Linked DNA regions of Homo sapiens: region 2 is linked to region 1. Evidence: promoter capture Hi-C in 16 types of primary human blood cells and fetal thymus (Javierre and others, 2016). All regions are on one chromosome and are shown on one strand. The core of a region is centred on a gene start or on the middle of the fragment in contact, and the rest is flanking DNA. Distances in the headings are between cores, read along the strand shown.

Region 1 (7,190 bases), core at 2,589-5,088:
AGATATTAAAATAGCATCTTTTATATAATAAGTTCTGTTGGGCTCTACAGTAAATATAAGTGGGCCAGTCCTTTATTATAGTTTATTATACTCTGTTCTAGGCACCAAGGCATTAGATTGCTAAAAGAATATTAACACCATCATTCTCCATTATCATTATGTAAATTATTGGGCCAGGACAATTTTGGAAACATAGGGTTCTTATTGTGAGTTGGTTTTACTGAATCCTTTGAGTAACTAGTCAAGAGTTAGTTAATCCTTGGAGTAACTAGTCAAGAGTAGCTAATGTGGTATCCATAAAGTTAATAAGAACTCTGGAAGCAACAGAAACTGTGCTCTACTTGATAATGCAGGCTGGGTATTTTTTTATTAGTTTGCAAGGATTAGTCTGATTAAATGCCCTTTAGCCTGACCTTTCTTACAAGGGTGTGTGAAAATATTGAATATACAGTTTGTGCTTTAACCACAGAACATATTCTATGGTGCATGACTTATTCATCCTTCAAAACCAAATGTGGTTGGGGCAAAATTTTCTATAATATCCCATTTTAAAAATAATGTTAAAGTTACTAGAACTCCATTAAAAATGTTTTGGGGCTAGAAGTCATGTTTAAAATAAGATAAATCTTTACTTAAGTTAGGCAAATCAATTCAGTGGTGATTTAGGTTATTCATATCATTAGAAGAGGTGGGTTAAACAGCAGTTATAATTTATTCAAGGGTAGACACAAAATATTCTATATTCAACAATCATTTTTTAAAGTTTTTCTGTTTACATTTATGTTTATAAAATGTTTGCATTTTCAAGGTTTCTCTGAGAATATTAAAGGATAATGTTGTACCTGTAAAATATTTGCATGTGAAATAAATGGAGAACATGCAGTAACACAGAGCCATCTATTGAAAACACGTGGATCTGATGCTGGATGAGTGTATATGTAGGGCCCTTGGTGTTTGCCTTTATTTAGTCATATTCTGTTTAAAAATAGGCAACATTTTGTGAGATAATTCTGAAGCATATTGATTTTTAAGGGTCAATATACTTATATATCTTTATTTTACAATGTCCATCATGTAGTAAGTACACAAACTTTTCTAAAGATTATGTTAGAGTTTATTTTCTTTTGATTTTTTAAGTTGCATAAATATATTGCTTTGTTAGAATACATTTTAGGCATTTGATGAGGGATTACCTGAAGAACTACAAATAATAAATCTTTAGTTTTGATAATAACTAGAAAATATTAACTTGACTGTATTTATAATGACTTGAAGACATTGTATAATAAAGTCAGCACTTGGACAGCTCGCTGTGGTATCTTCTTATTAATCCTGTAATCATGGAAAAGATGGCTGTGAATAATAAAGTAGTTGTTGTTGCTGGACATTATAAGAGTTACTACACCTTCTTCATTCATGAAACTGGGTTTCTGCACGTCTCCATCCTCACCATATGCTTTTAATGTCTTGATATGCTGCAAAGCAAAATGTTATTGTAATTGTAAAATATTTTGTTCTAATTTACATTTATTCGAAAACATTTACAGTTTTTTGCCTGTGGTTGGCATCGTATTCACCCTTTACTACCATAGCAAATCGTAGCCACCTCTTTTAAGTTTGAAGCATATTTTCCCTTTATATCCCTGTTGCAGACCAGGTGCAGGATGCATGACCCTTCAACTACTAAACATTCTGCACACAGATAAAATAGCAAGAACTTTCTGTATATATACTCAATTCTAAATAATAGCTCCTTTGAAAGTAACATAAGAATCAGAAAGAGATTAAGAAGCACATCCAGAAAGATACCAATACTTTATGGTCCCCTATTACACTTAGAATAAAATCCAAATAATTTTCATTCATCAAATCTTCAGTGTTTGTACACATCAATCCCCCCTCCCTTATTGATTCCATTCTTTCCCATATTACAGTAGTCACATTGACCTCAGTCAATTCCAAAAGACAGCACAGTTCTTTCCACCACAGGGCTTTTTCAGGGGCAAGTTCCCCTGCTTGGAATGTCTTTCTTTGCACATTGTACTCACTTGGTTCATTCTTTTCCATGAGTTTTCACCGTAAATATCAGCTGCTTATCGAGATTGTATGTTTACCCTAGTCAAAAATAAAGAAACTAATGTCTTCCCTTGTATTCTCTTTCTTAACTCCTTGGTTCATTCTTGACCTTTATTGCAGTCAACAATTACCATTCCTCTTGTATACTTGGTTTTATTTATCTTCTCCCATTAGAAAACATCTTTGTGATGACAAGGAATGAATGTGTATGTATCTTATTCACCAATGTTTCTCCAATTTTAAGTACTGTCCCTAGACTCTTTTCAGTATCCAATAAACATTTGTTGAATGCACACATGCACAAATAAATTAAATATATAACACACAGAAAGGTAGGTTGAAGCAGTATATTCTGGATATAAATGGTGCTAATATAGAATTGAATTTTAATCTCAACTTCAGCATTAACTAGACATGAGACGATTTCTCTGTTTTGCCTCAGTTTCCATATTTATACAAACAGAGAAAGTAATACTTGGCTGGCATTTTTCAGAGTGCTTCTGTGAGGACGTATTGAAATAATCAATGTGAGGCACGTTACGTTATTTAAACATTATACAAATAAAAGTTAATCTCCCGAATTTATCTAAAAATTAAAAGGAAAATATTTAAATACAGTAAGATAAGTTGGAAAAATTTCAGCACATTTTATTTGTAGCAAAGTTGGCCCTCATTCTTCCACACCAAAAATAATGGGGGAGAGAAGAATCAGGAAATGACTACTTATGAAACGAGAACCCAAGACTTGGGGAAAGATTGTTTCCTAGCGATTGAGGCATGCAAGTTACATTTTATAGCCGCATTGGTAAAAGAAGGATGGGCTTTGCCTCCACGCTTGGTGATATCATGAGGGTTTAACTTTCCTTTAAATAGAGGTGGGATAATACAAAGTAGCTCAGCAACAGTACCTGGTGAAAGAGACTGGCACATCTAAAACTAGGAGAAAGGGGAAAATTAGAGCAAACGTGGTTACCTATTTTCTAGTCTCTTCTTTCTTCTACATGTCTTCCCAATTCTTTCACAAACTGTGACTAATGAATCATATTGTTTTTGGTTTTTAAATTCAGCCCCTCCCAACCTCCCTTCCACAGATAGGGTCTGGGGAAAGGAGGCACGGATAGGTTACCAGAACTAATTCAATATCCTAATGATTGTACACCTCAATCATGTCTCTGCACAATATTTCTTCGAGCCGCTTTATTTGTTTATCAATGAACATCCTACTGCGTCCCTGAGATGTAGGTCATCGGAAATACCAGCTGCCGATCACATGCAGTCTTCATTGTATTTCCAGACCCAGTGCGCTGCTGATTCCTGCACAACTGGAGTGCGCCTGAGCTGTGTGAGGGAAAGGAGACACCTGTGCCTTAGGGACGCAGGTGAAGTCCCATCTACCTTCCTGAGACTTTCCCTGGCGCTTTTCCACCCTCTCGGGTGGCTCACTTCTCATCTCCATCTCCCCTGTCCACTTGTACTCAGACCTCTCTCTTTAACCTGCGCTTTTCCCGCGCTCTCTCTCCTCTGCGCCTTAGCTGAAGACACAGAGAACTCCACAAAACTGGGCATGCCTAATAGCCAGGGAAGGCTTGGGCGCAAGAAGAAAGCGTTTGCATCTTCCGAGCTCCCTTCCCCTCTGCAGCTGCCTCCTGCCAGTCAGGCCACCCGACTTGCGCTACCGCCCAATGAGAGCCCGCGGCCTTCTGCCAGCGCCCCGCCTCTCCTGGCACCACCACCAATGAGTGGTTGGCGGAGGTGGGCCGCGTCCTGTTCCCGCCTCTCCAGTTAAGGCCGCTGGTGTGAGCCGGGGCTCTGCGCGAGCGAGGGACGACGGAAGGGACGGGCAGGTGTGGGCGCGGGGCCACGCAGCCCGACGGCGGGAGTCGCAGGTGCTGGGTGCATGGGCCAGTGAGGACGCACAGAGATCCCTCGCCGCGCGGAGGAGGAGCAGCGCGGGAGCCAGGCGCTGCCCCAAGACCCTGCCTGCGTCCGAGCGAGCGGAACCTCGCGCTTCGCCCGGGGACAATCCGAAGTCCGCGCTATGGAAGAGGAGAAATATTTGCCTGAGCTGATGGCAGAGAAAGATAGCCTGGATCCATCTTTTGTGCATGCGTCGCGCCTTTTGGCAGAAGGTAGGACTTGCCCCCACAGATGGGCACAAACCGCCGGCTGCCTATCTCACCCGCGGCTTGATTAGGGGAGTGAAGTTGGGGAGGGACTCCTCTCCCCGCCTTCGCAGAAACTGTCCCCCTGAAGATGCTCGCCTTAGAGCTCGGGCGGACAGACCCCGTTCTTGGGGCGGACAGCAGTGCTCCTTCTCCACGTCTTAATTTGGAGAAGACCAAAGCTACGGAGATCTAATGGCAGTGGCGATGTGACCTGTTAGGATCATTGATAGAGAAACCATAAAGTGTATGTAACGCGGTCTACAGGGACATTTTCACTTCGCAGAGGGAAGGGAAAGCAGTTTGGAAGTAAATGGTGATCAATGTAGTGTTCTAAGAGCTTCGTAGCTACAGATCGGTATTTTTATTTTTATTTTTTGCTGCATTTAGGAAGTGATTTTTGATACCCTTTAATCAAAGTCTATCCTATGGAAAGTGTTAGAATTAACCTATGCATTAAACTATGCATGTTCTTATATGTATGTTAATGTGGTAAGTAAAGGCTAAAGTGCTTATACATTTATTTGAAGTGTGATGATTGGGTACTCTGTGAGATATTGGTCCCTGGGAACACTCTATAATTGATCAACTGTTTTACCAAGTGTGCATTTTCTTTTGTGTACCTGTAATGTTAAAGGGGATTTCATTCCTAGAGGAACACATATGTCTTGTTTTTTGCATTGCTTTGAAAGGTTTTTTTTTGAAAAAAGACACATGAACTTTATTAACCGAATTACTCCATTTATGTTATAATAATGCCATCTAAATACTAAAGACACCTATGGTATCTGTAGTTACTTACCCATGCCTTTTTAAAACATCTGCAGATTTTTTTTAGATGAATGCTTCATTAATAATGAATTGCTTCATCATCAAATTGGTTACAATGCAGTTTTGTAGCTAAGTTTGTTATGGACTTACATACAGCAAAAAACTAAAACGGATAACTTCCTCTACCCAAGCTCCTCAGTATTAAAAGATTTTTTTGAGACTTAGTTGTACCAAGGAAGAATAAATTCTGCTCCTCAATATATGATTTAAATAGGCATTAGCTATATTTTTTAATTTATGAATTGTTATTTATATTAACAATGAAGTGTAAGGTATTTTTCTATGTTTAAATACTAAACAATTAGGAAAAGATTTATATTCAAAACATGGAACATGTGAAATAACTAAACTGTTTTCAGGGAAAAAGCTAGTTTTATAGATAAGTGGGAAGGTGAAATACAATTATGCCTACTACTTTCTTGGTTACTGAATGAAAAAAAATATAAATTAAAGTGGAAAAGTAAAGTCAATAAAAACGAACTTTTTTTACTTTCCCAAAAAAGACAACTACATAAAAATAATAGCAAAATAATGTGTTAATAGATGTTTAAGATTGTTTGAAATGATTTAAAAGGCAAGTCTTACCAGTCTTCAGTATCTTTAATATATTTTGAATAGTCTTCAATATATTTTCCAGAATTTTCTTTATGTAGCTTATAATATGTCTTTAAAGTGAAAAAAAAGTTACAAATTGATCATTCTCTCTGACCCGCTAATTGGAGTTCTATTTGAGACAAGTGGCTCAAAGATTAATTCATCAGTCATTAATATGAGTTATTGTACTTGAAGACGGCCAAGCTAAATAAATGCATACAAGAAACTCTTAACAGAGTGCATAAGTATTTCTGTGGCTGGTAAAACAGTCAGAGAATGCACTTGGTTCCTTAACATTTTATCTTTCCTAGGAACTTGATTTCTTGATATAATACTTAGGAACATGTTCTGATGTACCTTGTAATTTGATTTTTTCCCAGCAGGGGGAAGCATGCCCTGCTTTTGTAAAGAATTAGAAGGAAAAGCTCCTAAATAGAGAAAAACATCTAAGTAAGAAACAAAGAGGTTACCCAAATTTCAGAGAAATCAGAATGAGGAAAAGAGAATGGAGGAGGTTATAATAATCTTGGAGTACCTAAAGAGTTATGCAAAAGGGTGCATAGGTTTTATATTAGCTCTCTGTACCTGGGGCTCTTTACATGTGCTAATTAAAGAGTGTAAGATGATTGTTCTTGGAATCTCAATAATCTTAATGTATATTTTATGGTATAGATCTTTCATTATCTTTCCAAAGGCCAGTTGCCAAGATGTCCACGCTTAGTTTCAGATCTCTATAGAAGAGTATGGTTGAGATTATTTTATTTCTCATACCTGAGAATGCACTGATTGAAGGGAGTGGCTGTAAATAAACCTGACATAGATATTCATTTGGAAAGAAGGTGCAAAGTACATTTCAGTCAGTACTGTGCAGACAGTGTCAAGCCTGAGTGAGTAGTAAAAATGATACAGATGATTCAGTTCTTCAGAATGATTTTCCGGAAGCTAATATATATAAAGGCAGTAGTATAAACCAATGAGATTTCACAATGATTTATTTTGCATTTTGATTGGTGATACAGGCAAATCAGTGCTCAATTGACAGTGCTTCATGTAGAATTGAAGGCTGTGGGGTTGAAAGTACTAGTTGGATGTTTATTTGGGGTTTTTGGGGGGTCCATTGTAGTTTGTTTTATTTCACTTGTTTGTGCTGTGTGTTTTCAATGAGAATGATTTCAGTTGATTGTTACTCAGAAGAGTTCTTGAATAATGTAGTTTGAAGTTTGTTTATAATATGCTTAAATAATTAAAATAATGTTCATCCTGCGATTATAATGTTGTTTAGTTATCCACTTGTTATGGTAGGTGCTTTTGAATATGATAAAACAGCAAACTCAGGACTATCCTTAAAGTTCTACTCAGTGTCTGAATTTGGTTGCCAGATGAAATTACATAAGTTTATTTATATCTTTTCTGCTTCTGGGAAGTGCATTAAACTGTGAATCTAGATACCTAGATTTGAATTCCACTTTAACCTCAACTGAATCTGGGTAAGCTTTCTTTCCCTGGGCCCAGTTTCCTTGTCTCTCA
Region 2 (7,190 bases), core at 2,805-5,304, 460 kb after region 1:
GGTTATGATAAACTCTTGATGTTTTATCAAGTGCTGGGTTAATAATGAAATGAAAGATAATTGATAAAAATTAACCATACAAAGAATAATGAAAGGGCACTTATAACCCTTCACCCGCACCTGTAACCTGTAGCTCTCTTTGCTAATTGGAACCTTTCAGGCCTTACTCCTGAAGTTGCCTTCTCAGAAATCCTTATTTTCTACCCTCTTAAGATACCAGCACCTTTTCTTTATAGACTTTATCAAAATTGGGAAACAGATGTGATCTCTGTGCTTATTTGTGCATTGAAGCCTCATGAGATGGTTGAGCTAATATGCAGGATCAGACTGTCACATTGAATCCATTGATCAGAGATTGTACCCAGCATGAATATCTGTTAAGAATATAAAGGATTCAGGAAATCCAGAAGGCTTGGGCAAAGGATAGAGAGGTCTGAACATCATAGATGTCTCCCAGATCCTTCTTTCTCACATCAGACATGCATGTCAGTGCCAGAATGATCAGTGATGTCTGTAGGTGAGGTCCACAGGGTTACCTCACAGAACAGGGGGGATTTAAATTGTGCAGAATCTCCACTTTATACCTACTGTGGACCTAATCATGCCCTTCCCACAATCCACAAATTCATATGCTGAACTCCTATCCTCCAATGTGATGGTATTTGAGAATAAGGCCTTTGGAAGATAACTGGGTTTAAATGAGGTTGTGAGGGTGAGGTCTTCATGATGGGATTAGTGCCTTTATAAGAAGAGACACTAGAGAGCCTGCTGTCTCTTTCTGTTAGCCATGTGAGAACATGGCAAGAGGGTATTATCTGCAGGCCAGAAAGAGAGTCCTCACCAGAGTCGGACCACACTGGTACTCTGATCTCGGACTACCAGCCTCCAGAACTGTGAGAAAATTAATTTCTGTTGTTTAATCCACCCAGTCTATGGTGTTTTGTTAAGGCAACCCGAGTGGACAAATATATACCCCAGAGAGCTGTCCAAGTTACTTTTATTGTCCAAGGAACTATGTCTTAAAAATCCATAGGTACTAGATTTATTGACTATAATGAATCTTTTAGCAGGAACATCCTGCCTAGCATTTTCAATATAGAAAATTGTTTCCTCCTAACAGGCATCATGTGTCAGCTTACCTGGAGGTCCAGCGGATAAGAAAATAAATGAAGTTCTGACTTCTTCTCCTTCCCCAAAGAGCAACACTCACATCCCTACTTCTACAAAGTTAGTCGGGGGATCACAGGCAGCCTGCGTTAACATCCTCCTCCCAACTGTAACCTAGAGGAAGAGAGGGACTTTGTGCATTTTGAGCACCACGGTGAATCCTGGGCTTTGCAAGTCGTCTAGTGCAGAGCTATTCAAAGAATGACCTAATGATGTTTATTACCTAATGGGTGAAACTATAACTTACATTTGTTTGTTCTAAATATGCTTCCCTGAAACCCCAAAATGTATATACTTCCAGCACGAGGTGATTGAAATAATCATTGACATGGCTGTCATATATTTTCTAATGAAGTAAACAGTTGATATAATTTTATATAGTCTCAATTATTTCCTTGCTAAAATTATGTTCTGATAGATATCGAATAATTGAGGAAAAGAACACAGGCCTTGGCATCTTCTAGCTAGCTATGTCGTGTTAGGATGTGTTCACCTTTAATATTGCTTTGGGTTCTGTAACTCACACTAAAAAAATTATGAAAGTCCTCTGCTTTCAAAAAACTTCCCAAATTTTATGGTAAGGGTTTGTGAGTAGAAATGTCTCCCAAAGAGCCACTGCATTTTATACAAATAATTGTTTCAAGGGCAGATAGGAAATAGTGAATCATCCTATTATTTTAAACACTCAACGTGAGTTTCTTTAGAGGCCAAAAAGGTCAAATTTATAACTAATTAACGAATACTACCTGTATGGGGCAGGTTGCTAGCATCGACCAGATGACACACTCACTGGGGTAAATGAAAAGAGCTCAACAAAGGGTCCATTTCAACTAGGGATGGTGAAGTAGCCAGAAGCCAGTAACAGCAGGAAGCTTTAAAACCCCTTCTCTGAAAGGGCAAGCAGGAGGCAATGTTAAGAAATCTGTAAAAGCAGCCACCATGAGAGACTGGCTATCAGACAGGAGCCACTGTCAAACCTTGGCCCATCAGAAGAGAGCAGATGTGGCAGAGGGAGATATACATCCTCATCTTTTTCCCTTCCTTCCCTCTGATTTCTTGCCAGTGCCTGCTCCTGGCTTAACATAGGAGAAAGCCAGGTGTTAAGAGAGCTTGGGTGTCTTAACAGAGCAGTCTAGAGAGGTCTCCTGGTGTACAGAGAAGAGTGGATGAGACAAATTTTAACTATGGGAAGCAAAACCTAAAATATGCCCATAAAACCCCTAAAAAATGCCACAGTTCTTTACATGAAGACCAGGTCCAAGGACTAAAATAATTTAGGGGAAAAATAAAATATTTGGAAAACTCCTTCTTTGATTATTTGCAACCCAGAAGTATTTTTACATCTATGTTGTCAGGTTAAGAATGTCCTGTCCCTCCAAGACAGAGAAATCATCCAAGTGTTGGCATCCGAATCTAGCACTGCTTCTTACAAAGTTATTTAACCATCAGTTTTACAATGCTTAGTATGTGGCAGGTACTGCTCTAAAAATTTTTTAAATATTGACTTATTTAATTTAATCCTCATACAGTGATGTGAACTAGGTTCTATTCTCATCATCCCCATTGAGTACACGAGGACACCAAGACTCAAAGAGGTAAAGTCGCTTTCCCTAGCCCACATAGACAACAGATGGTGGAGCTACCATCTGAACCCAGATTCTTGGGCTGCAGTGTCTGTGTTCCTAGCCATTATAATGTGCCACACCCTTATGGGGGACTTGTTGCATGACCACAAGCACATATAAATTTTAAACGGTAACTATGTCAACAGATCAAAAGGAATGATTTTTCTTAGATGAATTTTTACAACCCTCTTAACTGCGTTCATTTACTTTTAAGACCTTTAAAGAAGAAATGCATTTTCTACTCAAAATCAAACTAACTACAAAAAATATTTAGGATAATTTTGGTGTAAGTACACATAGGTTGGCGTGCTATTTGTCAGAGCTAGAAATTTAGAGGTATATTAGAGGATTAAGCATGATTAGATGCAGAATTATGGCAGCTATTTATGTGAGCAAATTCAGCATTTACACCATCAATCCCAAGGACTCAGAATATGTTTTGCCTATGGAAACACTATTTTAAATTGATAATTCATTTCATTTCACAAGAAAGAAAATGTGCACTTTGTCAGATGACAATTCTTTGAAAAACATAATTTTTAAAGGCTGCAATGACATTTTATAGAAATACTGTTTTAGCATAAATTAGTTTCATTTTCAGACTATATATTCTTTTTCTACATGCTTTTGTCTAATGAAATAATTTCCTCCTTGATTTCAGCTAAAATAACATAAATATTAAAATGAAGATTAACTTTGTGATAAAAAGGTCTGTATCTCTGAAAATTTTCCAGATAAGAATTGTGAAATGATAGATTTTAATAACCTATAGCATAGGAATTTTCCCAGTTTTAATACTGGTGAATATTTGGCAATGTGGACAATTAGCCATTTGAATGACATGACTATGATTAATGTACTACTCTTGTTTTTAAAATGTGTAGTAAATTTGATTTTTAGGAAGCTTAGATTTCTGGTAAATATTTAAATATTGTGCATAAGCAGGTATTTGCAGACAATCAATTTAACAACTGAATTTGACCATATTATACTGTTATCTATAACAAACAGAAATGATTTAATGTCATATTAATAAAACTTAAAGCCTCCCTAGTTATGTATGTTATATGAAATTTTCAAAGTATCTTAAATTTCCTGAGGCATTTGAAAGTGGAAATTCTAAAATGCATGTTTTTCCATGTTCCAATTTTAGGGCAAAGTAGAATCCTGCACTTTCAACAGATGTTGATGTCTTAGTCCATTACACTGCTATAAAGAACTACCCGAGACTCGGTAGTTTATGAAGACAGGAGGGTTAATTGACTCACAGTTCCACAGGCTTAACAAGAAGCATGGCTGGGAGGCCTTAGGAAACTTACAATCATGGCAGAAGGCTGAGGGGAAGCAAGCACATCTTCACATGGCAGCAGGAGAGAGAGAGAGAGCATGAAGGGGGAGTGCTACACGCTTTCAAACAACCCCATTTTGTGAGAACTCTATCACGAGACAGCACAAGGGGGATGGTTCAAAACCATTAGAAAAACACCTTCATGATCCATTCACCTCCCACCAGGCCCTCCAACACTCAGGATCACAGTTTGACATGAGATTTGGGTGGGAACAGAGCCAAACCATATCATTTGACTAGACAAGATGAATAAAAATTGGAGCATAAGCTTTACCAGATTCAGAGCTTTGTTTATTGTAAACACAACTGCTTAGTGCTCTGACAATACTCTTTGAACTTTTAAAGTCATGCATATCTTGTATTATTAAAATTAAAAAATTTTCTTTTGGGAAAACTCTGAAGATAAAAGTAAATATTTTCTGTTTGGTTTTTGTGTCACCAAATTAAAAAAGAATTGATTGTTAATATTTCTACATGATTTAACTTGGATCTCACATTTTGGAGCATGTTATTTCAGACATTATTTCTTCATTAAGAGACTCATATACATGTTTTACTGGTTTTTGATTTCTCAGTTTTAATTTTATAATCTGCAAATTTTGAGTAGCCACACATTTTTGAAAACTGTAAATTTGAACAACCTTTACTTCAGGTACAAGGTCATCTTAAATCGACATACTCAGAAGATAAAATGTATGTTACAAGGAAGCAACAATTCGTCAATACATCCCAACATTCAGGAAAAGCAATAGATAATGGAAAACCATTTTGAAGCAATTACCTCACTGATGAGGATAATCATAAAATGAACTGATTTGTTATAATGAGTATCATGTTCTGAGAGAAATATCGCATACTAAGACAATATCCTGGAAGAAATATTCTATTTCTGAACTTGCTCACTTGGCACATTAGACTATGTCTTTAACCATCAGATAAATTCTTCCCAATCTCTGCAATCTTTTTATATAAAGAGAGGACTTCTTTACATAAAATTTGTGTAAAGAATAGCAATGATATTCTGCAAAAGACTGAATACACATGCTTTATCAGAAAATGTATTTGGTTTTAGCTTAATATCAAAAATTATATACAACTTTTTATAGGGTTCCAATATAAACTGAATTTTTCCTCACTGATGATCTGGGGAAAACCTTTAGTGAGAACTAAGAGATGTCAGCAATGTGTTATGTATGTCTCCCCAACCCTCCTTCCTTGGTTGTGGTGGAATATTAAAGCATTCTCATGGCCCCTTTGCAACTGAGTCTAGTCAGAAACATAGAATTTACTTTAACTCAGTAAAACCCAGCAACCAACACCTATCAGCTAGAATGACCCCATCATGCATCATTTAGCATATATATGTTAACCTAGGCATTGTGTCAGACACTGGAGATTTAATAGTAAAAAAAAACTACCCACATAGGAATGGTGCCTGTCCTTATGGAGATGACCAACTGGTGGAATATAGAGTTACAAATCAGAGAGCTAATTATGATACACTGTTTCAAGGATTGTAGTAGAAATAATATGACTTATCATGGGTACAGAGAAAAGAGACACTGATCTCTTCTGAGGGGATGTGAGAGAGTATTTAGTTGAGGTTATAGCCCATGTCACAGCTTAGAGAATGAAGATAGAGTCTGAGAAGGAGAGAGCTTGTTTGTAAGACTACATTGCTGACATAGTGCAGAGAACTGAACACAAAAGCCTAGAGTAGGGAATAGAAATAGGTTAGCTGGAGAGTTAAGCTAGGGCCACATAAATAAATAAGAAAAATTTTAGGGTGATTTAAGAAGTTAGACTTCATCCTAAGAATCATGGAAAACCATGAGAAGATTTTTAAGTATGCTAGAATGAGACCTGAGTTTTGTGGAGAATTAGTGAGAAGAGTAGAAGATTGAAAAGGAAACCACATTAGAACATTGAAGCACTGATGAAGATGATAGAAAATGGCGATCTAATACAAGGCTGAAGGTACTGGAGTTGAGGAAAAGTCAAGAGATTCATGAAATATTTAGAGAATAAAGTTAACAGGACTCAGTGATTAACTGGATATACAAAGGGAGGAGGTTAGAGTGTTCAGTCTTCTTGACTTGGAAAACTGGGTAAATGTCGACATAATTTGCTGGGATAGGCTACAGTAGGATGAAGAAACAATTTGGGAAAAGAAGATGAACTTCGTTTTCGATAGACTGATTTGGAGGTACCTATAGGTTAGCCTAGAAAAGATAACTAATTGGCAGTGGGCAATACAGGTCTAAAGTTTATCAGAAAAAGTTGGTTTGGAACCATACACCTGGTGTTTATCCCTAGAGATGGCTATGGAAGTCATTGAAATGAATCAGGTAATTTTGTTTCTGAGAGTATTTTAAGAAAAGAGAAAATGGAAGAATCTCAAATAAACACATTCAAGGGAATTCATGAAAATTCTTTAGAAAATTTGACACAATGGGTCAACTATGTCTTCTGACTACATAAATGAAGACATTTTTATCTGGAGTGTGCATACTAGTAGGTTCAAGCCTTAAACAACTTCAGACACCTATATAATCTGTACTATGTTGAATTCTTACTCTAACAGAAATACCAGTCATTGGTCTCTAATGGAAAAAAAAATCTTAACAATGTGACACCCACTAAAAATGGAAGCAATCCATAGGACATCTAAAACCTAGCTAAAATAAATTCATAGTTTCCAAGGCTTATAAGTGGAAAAAAAAACTTTATTGCAGCAGTAAAATGAGTCTCCAACACTCATCACTCTAGCAACCTGCAGATGCGTAGTGGGAACATAGCCAAGGAAAGATAGAAAGAGTCTGCTTGCCAACAGAACTTTCATCTTCAATTCAGATAGTTGATCTTAGAAGTGTCATCTTACCTTTTATACGCTCTCAGCATTTTAAGTCATTGATACCTGTGCATTAGCATTAAAATGTTTCCACATAGATCCAGCTGAGTCCTCACTCATATCCTGTGTCCACTAATGATGCAGTGCAATTACACAAGTTCTACAGAGGACATTAAAGCAATCCTTAAATTTTAGCAAA

The links. The method cuts DNA at HindIII sites, captures the fragments that hold promoters and counts their contacts. A CHiCAGO score of 5 or more calls a contact.
Region 2: a fragment that was not itself captured here is called in contact with the fragment with the promoter of KHDRBS2 in region 1 in 2 of 17 cell types (erythroblasts and naive B cells); the score reaches 6.1 in erythroblasts.

Annotation. Positions count from the first base shown.
Region 1 is chr6:62,282,873-62,290,062 of GRCh38, reverse strand. It overlaps KHDRBS2 (KH RNA binding domain containing, signal transduction associated 2), which reads left to right and starts at 3,838. Exons shown (of 9, transcript NM_152688.4): 1 at 3,838-4,205. The coding sequence starts at 4,115. RefSeq lists a silencer at 3,889-3,978. The HindIII fragment of the contact is 7,395 bases long and covers 1-7,157 here.
Region 2 is chr6:61,821,359-61,828,548 of GRCh38, reverse strand. The region is part of intron 6 of KHDRBS2 (KH RNA binding domain containing, signal transduction associated 2); the gene reads left to right. Among named protein-coding and RNA genes, the nearest start is that of KHDRBS2, 460 kb to the left of the region's middle. The HindIII fragment of the contact is 712 bases long and covers 3,699-4,410 here.